Linked DNA regions of Homo sapiens: region 2 is linked to region 1. Evidence: promoter capture Hi-C in 16 types of primary human blood cells and fetal thymus (Javierre and others, 2016). All regions are on one chromosome and are shown on one strand. Each heading gives the region's core, a stretch centred on a gene start or on the middle of the fragment in contact. The rest is flanking DNA. Distances are from core to core; before and after follow the strand shown. Region 1 holds the start of MYO3B (myosin IIIB). Region 2 overlaps ERICH2 (glutamate rich 2).

The links. Contacts are between HindIII fragments. The CHiCAGO score rates a contact against its expected background, and 5 or more counts as called.
Region 2: a contact is called between a fragment that was not itself captured here and the fragment with the promoter of MYO3B in region 1, in 1 of 17 cell types (erythroblasts). The highest score is 6.0, in erythroblasts.

Annotation. Positions count from the first base shown.
Region 1 is chr2:170,176,897-170,180,935 of GRCh38, reverse strand. MYO3B (myosin IIIB) reads right to left here and starts at 2,789. Exons shown (of 35, transcript NM_138995.5): 1 at 2,647-2,789. The coding sequence starts at 2,648. RefSeq lists an enhancer at 378-607. The HindIII fragment of the contact is 3,074 bases long and covers 574-3,647 here.
Region 2 is chr2:170,798,713-170,802,676 of GRCh38, reverse strand. It overlaps ERICH2 (glutamate rich 2), which reads right to left. Exons shown (of 10, transcript NM_001290030.2): 10 at 3,700-3,907. The coding sequence ends at 3,783. Among named protein-coding and RNA genes, the nearest start is that of GAD1, 16 kb to the left of the region's middle. The HindIII fragment of the contact is 2,209 bases long and covers 1,555-3,763 here.

The DNA of each region.
Region 1 (4,039 bases), core at 1,540-4,039:
TTCTGCCAATTAATATGGAAAGAATGCCAAATATACAATTAAGATTTGTTTTAAAAGTGTTGAATAGTGTATAGAGAGGACAATTTTTGTGTAAATACAAAGAATATTTGCATTTCTAGTCATTTTATGTGTATATTTGTGTGTATGTCTCTATGTATGTGTATATCCTTATATACATTTTTCCAGAAGGCTACACAGGAAACTCTTAAACTTTAGGGAGAGGTGGTAAAAATCAGAGAGTTTGGAAAAGAGAGAAATTTATATGCTTTTTAAAATTATTACACATTTTTAGTCATGTTTTTTGCTAGTGCATATGTTATTCTACTTTTTAAAATAAATATTTTTTAAAAAAACATATAAGAGATCTCTACAGAGGAGACTATTATGACCCAAATGTGTGCTGAAGTCAGAGGATAGCAGAAACCATATGAAACAGAGGCTCATCCTGAGAAGAAAAAGAAAACAGAGAAATAAGAAACTGAAAGGACCATGCTTGAGAGAGTGAGACAAAGAGGATTAGTGAGTGGGTTCACTGTGAATTCTACATCTTGGCCCTCTGAGGCCTGCTAAGCTTTGCTGTCTGTCCTTGTAACCCATGAAATTTCCTACTGCATTCTTCCAAGCAGCCCCTCTTTTCATGAGCTGATTTGAGTTTCTCGTGAGCTAGTTTTAGTTCCTTAACAACCCCAAATTGGTCTAGTCTGATCCCTTGTTGAATACCCTGAATTAGTCCCTAACGGAGGTACAGCCTTACCTTGTTGAAAGTAAAGCACTCTGCAGCATGCACCCTGTGAATGTCTGCAGTTAGTCAAGCCTAGCGAGCATGATTTAAATAGAAACTTGCCCAGCAACATTTTATACTCATTAGAAAATTCATGATGAAGATTTCCATTGCTCAGTATGCTATTCAGAATATTTTTTCTAGATGTTATAGTATGGTATATATGAATCACAAATCATAGAATGCTTTCAAATCTAGAGAATAGATTTTAGAAAGAAGAAATCGGAAACCTGAACTGTGAAATGTCAGAGGAAATCTGTACAAATATTAAATATAACACCCAGAGATACACAGAATAAGGAAACACATACCATACAAGCGTGAGTAAATTAGAGAATAATTCCAAACCAATACATAAGCAAGTGCATAATAGTTGTGTTAGTCCATTTTCTGCTGCTGTAACAGAATACCACAGACTGCATCATTTATAAACAATAGAAGTTTATTTGGCTCATGGTTCTGGAGGCTGGGAAGTCCAAGATCAAGGGGCCACATCTGGTGAGGGCCTTCTTGCTGCATCATAACATGGTGGAAGGTCTCACATAGTGAGACAGGGCAAGAGAGTGAGAGCTCAAGAGAGAGAAAAAGGAGACTGAACCTATCCTTTTACTAGGAGCCGTCTCCCACAATAACAGCATTAATCCATTCATAAGGGCAGAGCCCTCATGACCTAGTCACCTCTTAAAGGTCCCATTTCTTCTCACAATGGCAATTAAATTTCAACATGATCTTTGGAGGGGACATTCAAACCATAACCATGGTAAAGACGTAAGAGTAGGAACTGGCTTCTTCACAAACCACCTATCTGGATGCTGCTAGATAGGGCCTGTTCAAGTATAGCTCAAATGTCTTCTCTTCTAGGAGGCCTTTCCTAATTTTCCCACTAGAACTGACCTTTATGGTTCCACTGATTATGTACTCTTTTCCTTTCTTTAAATTTTATTTTATTTTAAGTTCCAGGTTACATGTGCAGGACGTGCAGGTTTGTTACACAGATAAACATGTGCTATGGTGGGTTGGCTGCACCTATTAAGCCCCCCATGCATTAGCTATTTATCCTGATGCTCCAGGGGAGACACTCAGGACTGGCATTTGACAGAGCTTGGTAGAGGAATCCAATGATCTCTAGGTTGATCTCTAAGTTCCATCTCTAATGTTCTATGGATTTTAAACCTTGAATATACAAAATTACTGAGAGGAAGAAAAGAATCATGGCATAATGGAATTTATCTACTATTGTTTACATTGTCATGTTACCAAATTAACAAATCTGTCATGATATTGCAGTCACTAAGGAACAATACATACCCACAGCTCTTACAAATGATTAACTAAATGATCAGATTTTTCATTTCCCCACCAAAGCATGAGGAAATTTATCTTAGCTTTAGCTGCCTGAAACCTCTCTTGGGTGAAAAACATTAAAAACATCTGCAAATTACTGATGACTAATGCCCTTCAATTTGGCCTCAAGCTGAGAAATTCTGTGCAGAAATAAAGTGGTTTATAATCCCACAGGTCCATTCTATTATAAACTGCAGGTGGCAAATCAAGTGACTATGAACTATGCTGTGTGTATGTGTGTGTGTGTGTGTGTGTGTGTGTGGTGTGTGTCTGTGTAAAAAGCAATACTCAAGAGGGTGTTTATCCTACTCCTTCAAGAGAAATTTAACCACCCAGACAAAAGGCAAATGCTAACTGAGAGGACCCAGGAATCTGGGTGATGTCAGACAGAGGCCCAAAGCCAGAGTGGCTGTCATCCCCCTCCACTGCCCACCAGCCAGGGCAGCTGCATCTGCCCTTTGCAGAAAAACAATCTAAAGCAAGCACAGAAGAAAGCTGGAAGGAAAATAACTGCAACTCACATCGATGACCTATTTTCTGAATCCGGCTTATGAGAGATTGGATTCTCATTCCTCCAAAAACCAGCAGAACACTTCAGGCCCAGAAAATGGTGTCTTTGATGACTAGAATGTATGACACATCATTACCAAAGGACTTTCGATCTAGGTTCCAAGAGGTGTTAGCCTCAGATGACTATTGTGGGAGGAGCTGATAAATCCACCAAATCCTTGGTGACTTTGCTTCACTATTAGGCAAGATTAAGATGATGCTAATTGGTAGTGAGCCTGATCTATTTAGTGTCTCCTACCAGGACACAGAGCAGAATCAAAACCATTCTCACAGATCCTGTTTGCATGTCATTTAACAGTTCCAATGTGATATTCCCCCAACCTTTTAAAGTTCCTTCATTCCAGATTAAATTCCTTCATTCCAAATGCTGCACAATCAAAACTAATCATCTTTTTGTGAGCAAAGGGCATAATCAAAGCATGTAGTCAGGGTCACTTTTCTGAACTGCAGATAAACCCAGGGGAAACACCATGAGTTTCTGATCTGAATTACCAAGCAATGAAACAGTGACTATTCAACAGTGACTATTCATTCAGTAGCATGCCCTGGGCTATATACAGAACAGTAGGTTAAGAGGAGGCAGGGGGTGGGGGGGTGGTGCTGGGCATGGTGGATCACGCCTGTAATCCCAGTACTTTGGGAGGCCAAGGCTCGTGGATCACCTGAGGTCAGGAGTTCGAGACCAGCCTGGCCAACATGGGGAAACCCCATCTCTACTAAAAATACAAAAATTAGCAGGGTATGGTGGTGTGCGCCTGTAATCCCAGCTACCAGGGATGCTGAGGCAGGAGAATTGTTTGAACCTGGGAAACGGAGGTTGCAGTGAGTAGAGATTCTGCCACTGCACTCCAGGCTGGGCAACAAAGTAAGACTCCATCTCAAAAAAAAAAAAAAAAAAAAAAAAGGGAGAGAGGGGAAGTGAGAAACAGGAGGGTAGGGTCCCCAGAAAGCTTCTTTTCTGGCCAGCTAACATGACACATAGGCCCATGTGAAATAGTTGAAGACTGTGCAATAACACTGGATAAGCTATATCCATCAATTCTGAGGAGGAGTCAGTTCAACCCAGGACCAAGACTTGAGTGGGAATGCTTCCTGGAGCAGATAAATCTAGGTACAGTTTTGAATGAAGAAGTGAAAAGGATTAGTGTAGATGAGGCAGGAGAGAAACCCAGAGCCAAGAAACAGCACACAGAGAATGCAAATATGAAGAAGGTGATTTAAAGGACAGCGATCTTACTCCCGCTAGTCAATAATGGCCTTTGTGTTTCCATTTACTGTCATAAGAATCTTAAGAATGGGGATAATGTGTTCTATCTTCCTATATTTCCTACAGTATTTGCACAT
Region 2 (3,964 bases), core at 1,410-3,909, 620 kb before region 1:
GATTTCATAACTGACCAATGGATCGTAATGTGTAGTTTAAGAAGACATCTTTTTTACCTACCAGAATGCTCTTTCTAAAATACAATTATTTTCCTTAAAAGCATTCAATGCCTCCATTACTCTAAGGATAAAGTTCAAACTCTAACATGGCTTCTAAGACCCCCCATCACCCAGTTCTTTTATCACTGTAGCTTCGTCTTTCTCCACTCTAAATGGTTCATTTTATAATCCAACCTTACCTGCTTAACTTTCTGATATCAGATTGTGTCTCTGCGCCTTTGCAAGTTGTGTTACTCTGCTCAGACTGTCTTCTAGACACCCTTTTCTTACAGCTAATTCCCACTTCCTCTACCTTCTTAGCTTAGACTTCACTTCTCTCTAAATGCTTTTCCTGGATGCCTAGACTGTCTCTCCTGCCCTCCCACATTCTCCCTTAGTGCCCAGGACCCACACAATGGCAGTGTTTATCTCCCTGTATTTAACAACAATGCTGTTGAAGAGCAGAGACTGGGTTTTGTTCCCTCCAGAATACCTAGAAGGCCTTCAGTAAATACTTATTGAGGCCGGGTGTGGTGGCTCATGCCTATAATCCCAGCACTTTGGGAGGCCAAGACGAGCAAATCACCTGAAGTCAGGAGTTCGAGACCAGCCTGGTCAACATGGCGAAACCCCTGTCTCTACTAAAAATACAAAAATTAGCCGGGTGTGGTGGCGGGCACCTGTAGTCCCAGCTACTCGGGAGGCTGAGACAGGAGAATCATTTGAACTCGGGAGGTGGAGGTTGCAGTGAGCCAAGATCGCACCATTGCACTCCAGCCTGGGCAACAAGAGTGAAACTCCGTCTCAAAACAAACAAACAAAAACAAACAAACAAACCTTATTGAATACATGAAACTTTTTCAGTGGGTTCCCCTCTGAAGTCTATTGAGTAGGCATTCTTACATATTCTCATATTGTTGGATATTTGGGTTCATTAACATCATTACAATGTGTTGTAAAGTTATTGAAGAAGGCACAGGTCTGGAACTGAACTGTCTACACAGATATAACTCATTGGCAGACTTATTAAATAGTTCCTAGATGCTAGCTCTGTGTGAGGTAACAAAGAACATTGGGTTTAAGGTTCACAAAATCTCTCATACTGGGACATAACCAAGCATCTCTAAGTTTCAGTTTCCTCATCTGAATTCCAACATCCCAGCCAATATTTAACCTTAGATTCCTCAATTATGTCAAATTCAGTTTGTGTAATTGATGGGGATAATAGCATGCTCTTCAGATGACTGTGAGAAGCAAGTAGGTTAAATAATGTAAACAATAATTTGCAGATTTTTTAAGCTATTATTACTACATACCTATTATACACACGTGCCTATTGTCAGGTCATGCCAACACCTTACCATTTCATTCATTAGTGAGGGCTAGTAGGATGAAGAGTATGGACAGGGGGTACTGATGATCCTGAATGAACAAGCCTCATAAATTCTTAGATTTAGCTATAACATAGCCTGTGATATCATGGCTTTTTATTCGGACAGTTTCTTCCTCAAAGCTTCCCTGTTCCTTTAAAAGACAACTAAAATCTCATTGTAACTTATTTAGTCTTCAATGTCAGCTTTAGGGTATACTATGAACTTCTTATGGAGGGTTCTCCTTAATCAGGTAAGCATCATTAGATTGAGATATGGTGGTTTTCCCATGGTGGAATGAATATTAAACCCAAAAGAAAATGAAAAGAACAGGTAATTCCTGAGATCTGTCAGTCAAACCTCTGATGCTATTTGGTTATTTATGCATGAAGCCCTGAGAGTTTACTGCAGATTTAGAAAGGGTAACTAGAGGATTACACATATCCATCTTCATTTCTTTTGGTCATCCCTATGAATTGGTGCTGCAGATTTTCTTCCTCTGAATGTTAACAGGCCACAATGCCTAAAGAATAAGCAATGCCGCAAACATTTTGGATATGTTGTGACACTGTACTGACATAAGATAAAAATTCAAAATGCTTCCCCTCAAATCGGATTGGCACATTTGTAAACAAATTACTTAGGAATATTTTTCTTTTACCTCAGTTACTGCTTTGGTCTATATGTGGTTTGCCCCCTTCAAAACTCATGCTGGGCTGGGTGCAGTGGCTCACACCTATAATCTCAGGATTTGGGGAAGCTGAGGTGGAAGAATCACTTGGGGCCAGAAATTTGAGACCACTGTGGGCAACACAGCAAGATCCTGTCTCTACAAAAATTGTTTTAAAAAATATTAGCTAGATGTGGTGGCACGTGACTGTATTCCTAGCTACTCAGGAGTCTGAGGCAGAAGGATCACTTGAGCCCAGGAGTTCAAAGTTGCAGTGAGCCATGATCACACCACTACACTCCAGCCTGGGTGATGGAGCAAGACCCTGTCTCAACAACAACATAAAAACAAAACAAAACAAAATTCATGCTGAAATTTGATCCCCAGTATGTCGTGGAGTTGGGAGGTGGGAGGTGTTTGGGTCAGGCGGGTGAGTTGAATCCCTCATGAGTAGATTAATTTGGGGGCCGGGGGTGAGTGAGGTCTTGCTCTCATAGGAATGGATTAGTTCCCATGAGAGTGGGTTTTTAAAAGAGTCTGGCTTCCTTGGTTTCTCTTGCTTCCTCTCTTGCTGTGTGATCTCTTTGCACATGCCTGTTCCCCTTCTACTTTCTGCCATGAGTGGAAACAGCATGAGTCCCTCACCAGATTCAACTGCCCAATCTTCAACTTCCCAGCCTGCAGAACCGTAAGCTAAATAAACCTCTTTTCTTTATAAATTACCGAGCCTCAGGTATTTTCTTATAGTAACAAAAAACAGACTAAGACAGTTACCTTACAACCTAATTTGAAAGTGGCAGAAATCCAGCAAGAACTACAGAATCAGCACAATAAAATAGATGGGTACGTAAGAAGTATAAGTCTTGTAAATGTTTTATGAAAGAATATAAATATTTCCACTAACTTTCACTTCATTTGTTCATTAATTTGGTATATGTGTTCTATTATTTGCCAGGTACTTGTCCAGTTGCTGGGATATTATGAGGAAAATGATAAAGTTCTGCTTCATGGGTGTTACATTCTCTGGCAGGTAGGGAGAAGATGAAATGAACAATTAAACAAGCATTTCAGACACTGATACATGCTGTAAAGAACATACAATGAATGGGCTGGGCACAGTGGCTCACGCCTGTAATCCCAGAACTTTGGGAGGCCAAGATGGGGGGATCACTTGAGGCCAGGAGTTTGAGACCAGCCTGGTTGATGTGGCAAGATCCCATTATCTAGACAAACAAACAAATGATGAATGATATAAAAGTGCCTGAAATGGTGGTAATTTATAGGGAACTAAACATATGAATTCTGGGGCAATAATGTCCATGCACAAATCCAGGCTCTACAAACAAATAGGTGTATGATACTGGACAAATTATTCACCCTGTCTGTGCCTCAGTTTTCTCATCTGTAGAATGGCATAATAATAGTACTTAATGGGGTTGTTGAATTATACAATGTGTGTAGAGCAGTTTGAACAGTACCTGGCACACAGTCCTATGTAAGTGTTTTCAACTATTTTCCTCTCTGAGTAACTCATATATTGAGCTAAGGCCTAAATATTAGGAAGAGTCTTAAGCCAAGAATATAGATAACTTAAAAGAAACTGTACCAAATAAGGAAGAATTAGACTAAAATGTCACTTGTCTTTATATTTGCATGGTATACATTAATGAAAATACATGAAGCTTCAAGTATTGCAGCAACACTCATGATCCATCTTCACCTTCGTCAGAGCTCTCGTCACTCAGCTCCTCATCGCTTTCTCCTTTACTCTCACCACTGCTGTCTTCATCACTGTTTTCACCGTCTTGCTCATGATTCTGAGTTTTCTCTGCCACAGAAAGGAAGAGGATTGCTTAAGGTGTTTCTTAATATTTCACTCTGAAAA